Linked DNA regions of Homo sapiens: all the other regions are linked to region 3. Evidence: promoter capture Hi-C in 16 types of primary human blood cells and fetal thymus (Javierre and others, 2016). All regions are on one chromosome and are shown on one strand. Each heading gives the region's core, a stretch centred on a gene start or on the middle of the fragment in contact. The rest is flanking DNA. Distances are from core to core; before and after follow the strand shown.

Region 1 (3,269 bases), core at 687-3,186, 620 kb after region 3:
CAGTTCTAGCAGGTGGATAGGGGATCTTCCATGCTACCCCATTTTAAGGTTGGTCTTCCCACTCTTGTGAAATTTCACTTGTGATACATTTCAGATGGAGCTGCATGAACAGCTCTGTCAGCCTCAGAGAAGATTAACTACTGTGCCATAGCTTGGTTTGGCGCTTGTGACATGTCTAAGTCTCATTTCCTCGGTTTCCAAGGGAGCCACTGTGTTCAATTCCTTGACTATATTTTTGGCAAATGTGTTGCCTGCATTTCAGAGTTCTGTAGTTTCTCCCATCTTTGACCTCGTGGGATTTTTGTTTGTTTGTTTGCTTGCGTTTCTTTTTTAAATCTCAATGAAGTTTTTACCCTTTTCTGTCCTTGTGAAATTCACACCACTTTAGTACAACAGTCTCCCTTATTTCCAGCTTTGCTTCTTACCCCTCTCCTCCAGTTAGACTCTCCTCCAGTTAGACTCAGCCAGGCAGTACTGTCGGCCAGACCCACTACTGGGCACTTTTGACACTGTCGGCTTCCTTGCAGTCGTCTGTGTCCCTCCTCTCACATCCCCCAACCTTCCTCTCTGCCTTCTTTCAAAGCTCAGTCTACCACTTTGCCACTCAAAGTCTGGTTTCTGGACCCACAGCATCAGCATCACATGGAAGCCTGCTAGAAATGCAGATTCTCAGGCCGCACTGCAGCCCTTCCGAATGGGAGTCTGCATCTTAGCAAATTGCTGAGGTGATCTGCATGCCCATCCAAATTAGGGAAGCACCGCTTTAACTCACGCTTCTGCCTTGGGTTGTGACCTAATTAAGAGAATAGGATGTTAGAACCCATTCATTCTGTCGAAAGAATCAGCTAAAACATTTTTATATTTTCAAATTGTTCATCTTTAGGCAATAGTTTTGTCATTTTTAGGGATAGGGACAAACAAATATGCTTGGTAATGAATGTCTTTTCCTAACCATATGAATGCGGTTAGGGCATTAGGAGAAGCTTAGATAATTTAACCAATAGATTGTTACCAAGGGAGCTTTCAAATAACACCCATCATTGTTTTGAAAAGAATGGAGGGGATAGTTTTGTGGAAAGATTTCTAGTTTTCAGGTTTTTAACTTTCTTCTATGTGGAAATATTACTTATCCTGGGGATCAGTGATAGCATAGGTCATATCTCAAGACAGAGCTACAGATGTTTCTCCCTAAGGCGAGTTTCATCATGTCCTTAAGCATTAATGCTTGTGGAAAAGCTGCTGTGCAGGACAATGGATGGTGCAGGAGTTGGGGACATGGACCCCCCTAGCCAAGAAGTGAAGAGGGATGGCTCAGCTGCATGGAAGAAGAATGTGAGGTTGAGTGATCAAACTGATGGAAAGCCACTCTTGGGCCCCCTGCCCCTTCTTTTACCTGTCCTTATACTGCTCCTGTGGTTGTGTTGGTGTGGCAGTATCTGTGACCCCTCATCCCCCACTCATTTAAATTCTGGAACCTTTTAATGTCCAGATGGTGTCTCTAAGACTCAGAGTTTTGAAGGAATAGAATTTGCTAAGTTATATCTATAGGTTCTACAGGTTTTCTAAAGGAGTTACACACACACACACACACACACACACACACGCTCACTGCAAAGTCAGAGAACCTGATACTTTGGGTGGGAAGTGATACTGGCCATCTAAATGCAAAGGGCTAAAAAGTGTGTTTTTCTAGACTGACTCAACCTTGCCTTCAATGTAAAAGAATTTCCTTTTGTATGACCATTAGTTGTTTTGTGCATTTTGATAAATTATTTAAAAGTTTGGAGTTACAGCACTAGAAAAGCATTCACTTACATTTAGAGTGCAGCTGCATTTAAGAGACATTGTTCTCGTTTCTTTGAACACTAGGCATCTGTTTAAACTGGACCCTACCTAATGCTACAGACCTTCAGTGTGGGCCATCCCCGCACTGAGCAGATGCTATTGACTTGAAATAGGAGTGGCCAGGGCAGTGTTCCATTTCTCCTTCAGAAGTGTCTTATGGCATCAGAACCTAATACCGGAAACAGATGGAAACTGAACCTCAGGTTTCAGATCTTATTCAAAGGATAAGAGTTGCTGAATTGAAAAGTGTCAGATTTAGAAAACCTGTAATCAGTCAAATGGATGAGGGGAATGATGAAGGAAAATCATTGTTATATACTGAGAAGAAAAAAGAAAAATTAGTAGTTTCTAAGGAGTTTATCTTTGGTTAAAAGCACTTCATTTTTATTATTTTTTAATTTTTTTTTGAGACAGAATCTTGCTTTGTCACTCAGGCTGGAGTCCAGTGGCACGATCTCAGCTCACTGCAACCTCCACTTCCCGGGTTTGAGTGATTCTCGTTCCTCAGCTTCCTCAGTCATTGGGACTACAGGCGCACACCACCACACTCAGCTAATTTTTTTGTAGAGACAATGTTTCTCATGTTGGCTGGGCTGGTCTTGAACTCCTGACCTCGGGTGATCCGCCTGCTGCGGCCTCCCAAAGTGTTGGGATTACATGTATGAGCCACTGCCCCCAGCCAAAAGCACTTTAAATAAACATATATGTTAAGGAACGTATGAGTGTTACATATTACAGAATTTTGGCCAAGTTGTCGGATATATAGGATCTTTTTAGTAGTATGAGGATTAGGCAGTACTGGACAAGCAAAGATAACGTCCAAATTGAGATGTTCTGCTTGGGTAACTTTGAGTTAATGTGAAGCTCATTATTATTGAATATATTCATAGGATGCATAAATGTACCCTTCTTTCATCAATACATAATGGCAAAAATGAGGTTTCTTTGATCATTTAGGTTATTCTTGTCCTTTTTATGGCACCTTGAAAGTGAGTTACACTGGTCTGGTACCTTTGATTGAGAGTTACATTAGACTGAAGCTTTTATGGGAGTCATCCGACAATAACTTAAAACGAGAAACTGAAATCAATATGAAACTGAATATTCCAGAAAAATGTGATTTATTGAAAGTTTCCTTTTGTTTTATTTCTCAGCTTTGTTGTTTTATGTCTTTATATAAAACAACAAAGAATAAAATATATTTTATTCTCTACAGCAGTGTTTCCAAGATGTGACCCACAAAGCATTCTTTTCCTGCTCTGTTAATATGGATTAAACTATGGCAGTTTATCTACTGCAGGACTTCTCAGAGCCTTTGACAGTACTAATATTCCCTGTGATTCTTTTAGAATGAGATATATTATCTGATCTTTCCCAAGCTTATTTTACTTCGCCTGCCGCTCTCTTCCCTGCCACCTCCTTTT
Region 2 (3,201 bases), core at 151-2,650, 580 kb after region 3:
TTTTTGAAAGTAACTGTGACAGAGTGGGGCAGTTAACCACCACCTCTCCATTCCCAGCAGCTGGTATGCACACCCTGATTATGGTATAGACTTAGTTAATAAGAGAACCAGTGAGTGTTTGTGTCAGAATTTTGCTTTCAGAACCAGGCATAGGAATTTATACATGAACGCCCTGTGCAGAAAGAGGAGGTGTTTGCACACAGCTACACTGACAGATTATTTTCCACTCTTGCACAGTGACTAGTACAGATTCCTCTCATGAGCTCCTCAGAGACGTAAGACAGGGCGTTGATGATGCTTTATCAAGTAGACAGTATGTTTGCTACCCACAACTAAGTAAAATTAAAATATAAGAATAAATTGGAAGGCAGATGCAGATATAAAGTCCCATCTTTAAGGCAGGAATACTTCCTATCATCAAATATTACCCAGAACTCACTGGTTTAGAGGTTGAAGGCACAAAGCATGGTTGAGAAGGCTGAACTCCTGGCCTGTCTCTTCACAGGGTTGGTGAACTCTGGTAAACTCTAGAACAGAAATGACCCTTATAAACAGGTGCACATATGTGGTGAGTACCTGATGAATGTGTGCTGACCAATAAATAATTACTACTACTTCCTCTTGACTCATGTGTTTGAAATGAAGAACAGTCACTCTAGTTGCAGTCTATACTTGTGTGGAGCAGGGAAGTTGAGCAATACATCCATATTTAGTAACACTCTTGAGATGAGATAGATGGGGTGGGAGAGATAACAGTCATTCTTTGCCTTTTGGGTGGATCTAAGTTAAAATATTTTTATTGTCTAGATTTATAGCTAATTAATAATTTTTTTTGCCCTAGAATATTGAGGGTGCAAGATTTTAAAGTTGGATTTAGAGGAACTGAAGTTTCAGTTTGTTCATTGTGATTACGTAAATAGAGAAAACGGACTAATACGTTATACTTTCTCTTTTTAACCATATAATGACTACTCACCATTGAAATTTTGATGAGCATTTTTTTTGCCTTATTTCAGAGAAAGACAAGTGAAATTATAATTAAGTTGTATATTATTTTGTGTAGATTGTCTCTTCTCTAGTGTTCCTGCTGAAAACAAAGAGGAGATTAAAGATTTTCCTGTTCAGATTTTAAATCCGTTATTCAAAGTTTGAGGCTGGGCGCAGTGGCTCACGTCTGTAATTTCAGCACTTAGGGAGGCTGAGGTGAGAGGATCATTTGAGGTCGGGGGTTTGAGACCAGCCTGGCTGACATGGCAAAACCACATCTGTACTAAAAATATAAAAATTAGCCGGGTGTGGTGGCAGGTGCCTGTGGTCCCAGTTCCTAGGGAGGCTGAGGCAGGAGAATCGCTTGAACCCAGGAGGCGGAGGTTGCAGGGAGCTAAGATCATGCCACTGCACTCCTGCCTGGACGACAGAGCAAGACTTCGTCTCAAAACAAAACAAAACAACAAAGTTTGATAGTTTGCTTAACTAATGGGAGTAGGTGTCTTGATGTGTGTGCAGCTTGTATGATCCAGTAACTGATAATGAAGTTTGCAACATCTCTAAGTTAGAAATTTTAATGAAACCACAACATATTTTCTTTCATAGCAATTCTCTGAGCCAGCATTTCAAGAAGGGGTGGGAAAAAAATGGTGATAAATGACCTTTGAGGTGAACTTTTGATATTTGCATTGCAATTCTTTGGGTTTACACTTTTAATTTTTAAAATTGCAGGTGATATTTGTGAAAAGTGTCAGTTTCCAATATGTTCACAGTAGTGATAGTATGACTCAAAAGAAGTAAGCACATATATGCCTATTTTATCAATGGATGTCTTCAGAGTTGGTGTGCCATTTTTGCAGCATGGGTGAGAATTGAGGTTTTTCTAATTACATGAGTTTCTTTCTTCCTTCCTTCCTTCCTTCCTTCCTTCCTTCCTTCCTTCCTTCCTTCCTTTCTTTCCTTTCTTTCCTATTTTTTTTTTTTTTTTGAGATAGAGTCTCACTTTGTCACCCAAGCTGGAATGTAATGGTGATCTTGGCTCATTGCAACCTCTGCCTCCCAGGCTCAAGCAATTCTCTTGCTTCAGCCTCCTGGATAGCTGGGATTATAGACGCCTGCCACCACGCCTGATTAGTTTTTGTATTTTTAATAGAGACTGGGTTTCACCATGTTGGCCAGGCTGGTCTCGAACTCCTGACCTTAAGTGATCTGCCTGCCTCGGCCTCCCAAACTGTTGGGATTACAGGCGTGAGCCTCCGCACCCAGCCTAATTACATTAGTTTCTTTCTTTTCGTTTGTTTCTGAGACAGAGTTTTGCTCTTGTCGCCCCAGGCTGGAGTGCAGTGGTGCGATCTCGGCTCACTCCAACCTCTGCCTCCTGGGTTCAAGTGATTCTTCTGCCCCAGCCAACCGAGTAAGTAGCTGGGATTACGGGCATGTGCCACCGTGCCCGGCTAATTTTGTATTTTTAGTAGAGATGGGGTTTCTCCATGTTGGTCAGGCTAGTCTCAAACTCCTGACCTCAGGGGATCTGCCCACCTCCGCCTCCCAAAGTGCTGGGATTACAGGCGTGAGCCACCGCGCCAGGCCTTACATTAGTTTCTTATAGTAAGAGAAAGGTTTCAAAGTTATATATATCTAAGAATACACCTACCTTCATAGTTGAGCTTTTTTCCCCAAAATACATGTTTTTCTGGTGGTCTCTGTATTTTCCATCACTTTAAAAAAATCTAACTTATTAAAAGTTATTTGATTTTGCTTAAGACTTTCATCATCATCAGTAAAAATTTATGAGACTGCTTCTGTGCATTTGCTTCCTACGGGCCTAGGGGTGCAAAGGAAAGGGGTAGAATCTAAGATTCTAGGGTTAACCAAAATCGAAGGTTTGTAGGCTTCTCTGAATTTAGGTGGAAGAAGGTGGAGAATGTGATTCTGGGTGGTATTGTGCTATCCTTGGGATAGCCACTAAGCTTGTTCTACCAGTCAGGCTGGGCTGAGCTATGGTATGGTAGCAAACAACCCCACATCACAGGAGATTAGCACAACACAAGTGTATTTCTTGCTCTTGCACTTCCCTGTGACTGTGGGAGATATCTTAAGTCAGCTGTCCTTCCTGCAGCAACTCAGTCAGCTTCAGTCTTGTGGCTCCATCCTCTGTTATCTCTAGCAGCAGGAGGGGAAGAGTCATGGGAGCACTGCTCAGGGGCTTCCCCG
Region 3 (2,868 bases), core at 79-2,578:
AAATTCAAAATGTAAAAATCAACCCATTTTTCCTTTCCAAAAACTGAGGCATCTTCTCACAGCTCCTCTTTCTGTAAATGCATATTCATTCTACAGGAATTTATTGGGCACCTGCTGTGTAGTGGACACTGTGGCTGATAAGGATCAGCTATAAAAGGTAAGGCCTTTGCCCTCAAGATGCTTCCATTGAGTCCAGTGGGGAAGGCCGTGTGATAAGTGTTCTGATGGAGTTAAATGGTTGTACCTTTTCTTCTCAAGGAAGAGCACCAAATTCCCAAAGGCTAAGGCTTTCTGGGAAGACTAACTTCTAACACAAATTAGTCTTCAAGGCCAAGTAAGAGTTAGCGACATGAAGAAGAAGAGGAAAGAGGTCTCTGTGGCAGTGTAAGCAGTATGGCCAGAGTCCTGGAGCTGTCACAGGCATGGCACATTCTGAGACAGTGCCCATGGGGAGGGATGAGGATGGAGTGGAAGGTCAAGGTCAGGCCACTAAGGGGGAGAACAGGTGGTAGGAAGTGGGGTGGAGGCTGCCTCACTGCTTCACGCTATGCCCTTTGTCTCAAATGCCTTTCCTCTTTCCACTTGACTCATTCAAATACTATTCATTCTTCCTAGCTTTCTGCTTGAAACCTTTTCTTACCTGATCCCAGAAGCAGCTGTTACGAGCAGCGAATCCTTATGGGTCCGCAGCGAACTCAATTCTTAGCTCCTTAGAAGAAAGAATTTGGGGCCGGGTGTGGTGGCTCACGCCTGTAATCCCAGAACTTTGGAAGGTTGAGGCAGGTGGATCACTTGAGGTCAGGCATTCGAGACCAGCCTGAACAACATGGTGAAACCCCGTCTCTACTAAAAATACAAAAAATTAGCCAGGTGTGATGGCGGGCGCCTGTAGTCCCAGCTACTCTGGAGGAGGGGGGAGGCAGGGAAGAATTTGACCGAGGAAAAATAAGGCAGACTGAGAGACTGAGGCAAGTTTTAGAGCAAGAGTGAAAGTTTACTAAAAGGTTTTAGGGCAGGAACGAAAGGAAGTAAAGTACACTTCGAGGAGGGCCAAGCTGGCCACTTGAGGGATCAAGTGGCTGGCTTGACCTTTGCCTTAGGGTTTTATATATTGGCATACCTCTGGGATCTTGCATCCCTTTTCTCCTGATTCTTCCCTTCTGGTGGGCTGTCTGCATGCCCAGTGCCCTACCAGTGCTTGGGAAGGGCTGCATGCGCAGTGTGTTTACGGGAGTTATACGCATGCTCACTTGAGACGTTCTTCTATTACCAATCTAACGTTCCTAGAGGAAGGTCATATACCAGTTAAACTCCCCCATTTTGCCTCATAGTGCGCATGCTTGAGCCCACTTACCTAACACCTGAGATCTTATTGGGACGCTGCTGATAACCAGTTTCAGGTTTTTTCTGTCTGTCGGGAGATTGCCTTTCCCTCGTGCTGGCTGTGACTAATTATTGTTTTAGAGAAATAATGATTGTAACAGTGTAACAACCACCTGACCATCACTTGATGGTCGTCTGACATTCCTGGTTGGGCGTGCAGCCCTCTCCTGGCCTGCTGATGTCTGCCTGACTACTATAACACAACCTCTCTCTCCTCTGAACTTTTCTGGCAATTACTATTCTCACAACATATTTGATATAACGATGATACCAATGTCTTATATCTATAGATTTTATTTTTATTTTTAAAAGCCTTTTGCTGGCCGTGTGCAGTGGCTTATGCCTGTAATCCTAGCACTTTGGGAGGCCGAGGCAGGTGGATCACTTGAGGCCAGGAGTTCAAGACCAGCCTGGCCAATATGGTGAAACCCCATCTCTACTAAAAATACAAAAAAATTAGCTGGGTGTGGTGGCATGCACCTGTAATTCCAGCTACTCAGGAGGCTGAGGCACGAGAATCACTTGAACCTGGGAGGCAGAGGTTGCAGTGAGCTGAGATCCCGTGCCACTGCACTCCAGCCTGGGCAACAGAGTGAGACTCTGTCTTAAAAAAAAAAAAAAATCTTTAGAGCTAATAACTTCTGCCTGTGGCCTACCTCCCTAACTGTATTGAGACCCCCTTCAATGCAGCAGCTTTGCCCCTGACTTCCTCATACTCCTCACAAAGCCTAACATAATGTCTCGAACGATTGGTGCTCAATACATTTATTGACTTAATGTTGATGTGCATTTTACTGCTTTCATTAGTGTTCTGGCTCTGTGGGTAAACAATTTGGTACATGTAGCATAGTGTAAACTACTGGTTAGCATAGTGCAAACTATTTTATAACTCCTCAGAAATGACTTCTAAGTGATACAACTAAGAAATGGCAGCACTAGAAGTGTAGTACATCAGGGCTCAGTTCTATGTACCATCTAGTACCCTCAGCTGAGAGAAAAACAATACTCTTTGCTCTTAAAAACTCTAGGGACCCTTTTGAACTCATCTTTGGTGACATAGCTCCAATTAGTCTGAAATCTAACATAGGATTGCTTGATGGCTTGCCAGACAGTAACTAGCACTCTGGGTCAGGAACTTTGGCCAGAGCCAAGAGTTCAGTCCTGATGAATCAAATTAACAGCTATGACTCAAAAAGAGGAGGGCTGGGAACTGCTCTTTTATTTCCTATAACTCAAGTTACAGAAAATAAACTCGCTTTGTAGCATTTCATCCCTCACCTACTACCCACCCCTGGGACTTTTTCCCTATGAGTCTTTCAGCCCATTCTTAAAACCCAGATCCCTAAAAAACTAGCGTTACTACCTAGATCGCTTCCATTCTTCAGTCTGCAATGTATTGAATGACTGAATTGCTTGTACTGGTTCTTTTTGAACCTGTGTTCTGGGTTATGTTTGCCCTTGCAAGTTCCCAGGGTTAGACTGAGG
Region 4 (2,810 bases), core at 238-2,737, 640 kb after region 3:
AGCAAGCCCCTAAACAGTTCTCACAATTTGTTCTGTAAGCTCAAGGAAATCCCAGTTCTTTTTCCTCATAGGTGAATGAAAAATTCATTAGAGGCAGACATGCCAAGATTCCAGATGCAGTTTTTGCTTTATCCTTATGCTTGCTACTAGGAATCCAACCATCCACAGAACTGGCTAGGGTATAGTCTACAGTTGGACTGGACTGGATTGTTTTATTCTGTTCATGCAAGAGTAAGGAGTATATCTAAAATATTTTAGCCACTCTCTGGTGCTAAGAACCTTTATTTTCAGCAGTGAAAGCCCATTTCTAACATGTATCATACCTCTCAACAGGTCACTGTTTTCCCTAATAATAACCCCTTTGGACAATCAGTCACCTGGCTTATGCTCATCTATATTTAGATTTGGATAATAGAAATACTTCCAGCAGCTGCCTCTGGCATCCTGAGTCGAGTGCTATCAGAACCCCCCCAGCACTGGACATTCTTGGTTAGAATGCCAGCTGACCACCTAGGTTGTGGTATCACAAACATAATATCACATGGCATATGTTGAAGTATTTTAGGTACATTTTAGACATCATAACCACACAGTTGGCAGACTTTAGTTTTGCGGACTAAATTAGGCAGGAGAAATCGCTTTTCTATTTTTTTAAAAATGAATTTGTTGCCAACTACAGTAAGAAAGGGAGCTTTTTCATAAAGATTCCAATGTTTGGCTTTTTTGGGAAAACTGGGATATCCAGCAATCCTGGGTCTACATTTCTCTATGGCAACTTTCTTCTGGTGCCAAGCAGCAGGGGCCTGCCTTGGACCTTGGTGGGAGGGTGCTGACAGTGGGCTCCAGGGCTTCACACAGGGCCCAGCACTCCTAAAGTCTCCCGTCACAGAGACTGAGCATCAAGGGCCCTTGTCACTGAGACTGTAGCTGTTGTTTTTCAGGACCCTCTTTTCTCCATTGTATTCCTGCCTGGCTGCTGTAGGTGTTTTGAGTTTTTGACCCTTGCAGCTGTCAGTTTTTCTTCTTGGCTCCACACTTGTGCTTTGCTCATGCCGTTTCTTTGTCTGGAATTTGTTTCCTGTTGGACTTGCTCATCCAAGTCTTCACCTCATCTTGAAGGCTGGCTCCAAGACCCACTTTGGAGATAGTCTTCTATGACCATTATGGTTATAGCTCCTCTGCTTCTACACAGACAATATAGTATTTGATTTTATACATCTTATCCTACTTAGGTGGGAATATTCTTTTTTTTTTTTTTCTGAGACGGGCTCACTCTGTTGCCTAGACTGGAGTGCAGTGGCATGATCATGGCTTACTGCGTCCTCGACCTCCTGGGCTCAAGCGATTCTCCCATTTCATCCTCCTGAGTAGCTGAAATTACAGTTGCATGCCACCGCACCCACCTAATGAACTATCATGCCCGACAAATATTGTTGAAGTCAAGAAACATGTCTTCTCCTATTTTATCTCTGCCACTGTAAAATATTTATGCTTATCCCCTCAGCCTGCTTGCCTTGCTTATGAAAAGGCAGTGAGTAGCTTATCGATCTACCTAACAGTTGTTATAAAGAATAGTCATACATGGTAAAAAAAAAAATGAGTCTTATAAATATGAAAGTAATATAGAAATTGAGGCTCGGCATGGTGGCTCATGCTTATAATTCCAGCACGTTGGGAGGCTGAGACAGGAGGATCGCTTGAGCTCAACAGTTTGAGAACACCTTGGGCAACATAGAGAGACCCCATATCTACAAAAAATAAAAATAAATTAGATGGGCATGGTAGCACATGCCTGTAGTCATAGCTGCTTGGGAGGCTGAGGTAGGAGGATCGCTTGAGCATGGGAGGTTGAGGCTGCAGTGAGCCATGATCATGCCACTATGTTCCACCTTGGGCGACAGAGCGAGACTCTGTTTCAAAAAAATAAAATAAATAAATAAAAATAGGCCTAAATAAGAAGCCCAATAAGGCCCAGAAAGTTTAAGTCCCTTTCGGGAGTCATACAGTTGGGTAATAGTCTAGCCTTAGGCCTAATCACTGTTAACACTCAGATCTTGCCCATTAGTCCTGTAATGTTTCCTAGTAGATCTGCCACTCTCCAAATCAGATAACCATACCTGCAGATCCTCCTCAAGGCTTAGTAGCATTCACACATCAAAACTAGACCATGACCAATGTTACTGAAATCAAATTACGCAAAGGTGATGAATGCACATCAAATTACTCACCAAGAGCCAGGGTGCCGGAGATGCTGTGTCATTAACAAGGTCATGCAGAAAGCCTTCTGCTGGTGCACCTGTTCAGCATGGAGGGTTGATGTACCTAGACGACAAAGCATCATGTGCAAGGGCAATGCTGGTGAGGCCAAGGAGGTGATGGGATCAGGGAATAAAAAGTAAGTCATTCAGTAGGCTGGAGCTTACTGTCTGAATCTGAGAGTAGTGATATAGGTTTACGTGTTATGCTGAAGGATTTTGACTTTTTCCTGAGGGGACAGGGAGCCTTGAAAGACTTTTTTTTTTTTTTGAGACAAAGTCTTGCTCTCTTGCCAGGCCAGAGTGGAGTGGCATGATCTCAGCTCACTGCAACCTCCGCCTCCTGGGTTCAAGCGATTCCCCCGCCTCAGCCTCCAGAGTTGCTGGGACTACAGGCGCGTGCCACCAGGCCCAGCTGATTTTTTGTATTTTTTTAGTAGAGATGGGGTTTCACCATGTTGGCCTGGATGGTCTTGAACTCCTGACCTCGTGATCCACTTGCATTGGCCTCCCAAAGTGCTGGGGTTACAGGCATGAGCCACCGCTCCTGTCCTG

What was found. The method cuts DNA at HindIII sites, captures the fragments that hold promoters and counts their contacts. A CHiCAGO score of 5 or more calls a contact.
Region 1: a fragment that was not itself captured here is called in contact with the fragment with the promoter of CERS6-AS1 in region 3 in 1 of 17 cell types (total CD4 T cells); the score reaches 5.1 in total CD4 T cells.
Region 2: a fragment that was not itself captured here is called in contact with the fragment with the promoter of CERS6-AS1 in region 3 in 1 of 17 cell types (activated CD4 T cells); the score reaches 5.7 in activated CD4 T cells.
Region 4: a contact is called between a fragment that was not itself captured here and the fragment with the promoter of CERS6-AS1 in region 3, in 1 of 17 cell types (total CD4 T cells). The highest score is 6.6, in total CD4 T cells.

What each region holds. Positions count from the first base shown.
Region 1 is chr2:168,167,966-168,171,234 of GRCh38, reverse strand. All of the region lies in intron 2 of STK39 (serine/threonine kinase 39), which reads left to right. Among named protein-coding and RNA genes, the nearest start is that of STK39, 78 kb to the left of the region's middle. The HindIII fragment of the contact is 1,902 bases long and covers 986-2,887 here.
Region 2 is chr2:168,208,771-168,211,971 of GRCh38, reverse strand. The region is part of intron 1 of STK39 (serine/threonine kinase 39); the gene reads left to right. It overlaps LOC124906088 (a long non-coding RNA gene), which reads right to left and starts at 522. Exons shown (of 2, transcript XR_007087283.1): 1 at 440-522. RefSeq lists an enhancer at 1-1,152. The HindIII fragment of the contact is 3,118 bases long and covers 1-2,959 here.
Region 3 is chr2:168,784,889-168,787,756 of GRCh38, reverse strand. CERS6-AS1 (CERS6 antisense RNA 1) reads left to right here and starts at 1,328. Exons shown (of 3, transcript NR_045787.1): 1 at 1,328-1,400. It also overlaps a transcript of NOSTRIN not described here. The HindIII fragment of the contact is 3,155 bases long and covers 1-2,868 here.
Region 4 is chr2:168,143,429-168,146,238 of GRCh38, reverse strand. All of the region lies in intron 5 of STK39 (serine/threonine kinase 39), which reads left to right. Among named protein-coding and RNA genes, the nearest start is that of STK39, 100 kb to the left of the region's middle. The HindIII fragment of the contact is 7,322 bases long and covers 1-2,810 here.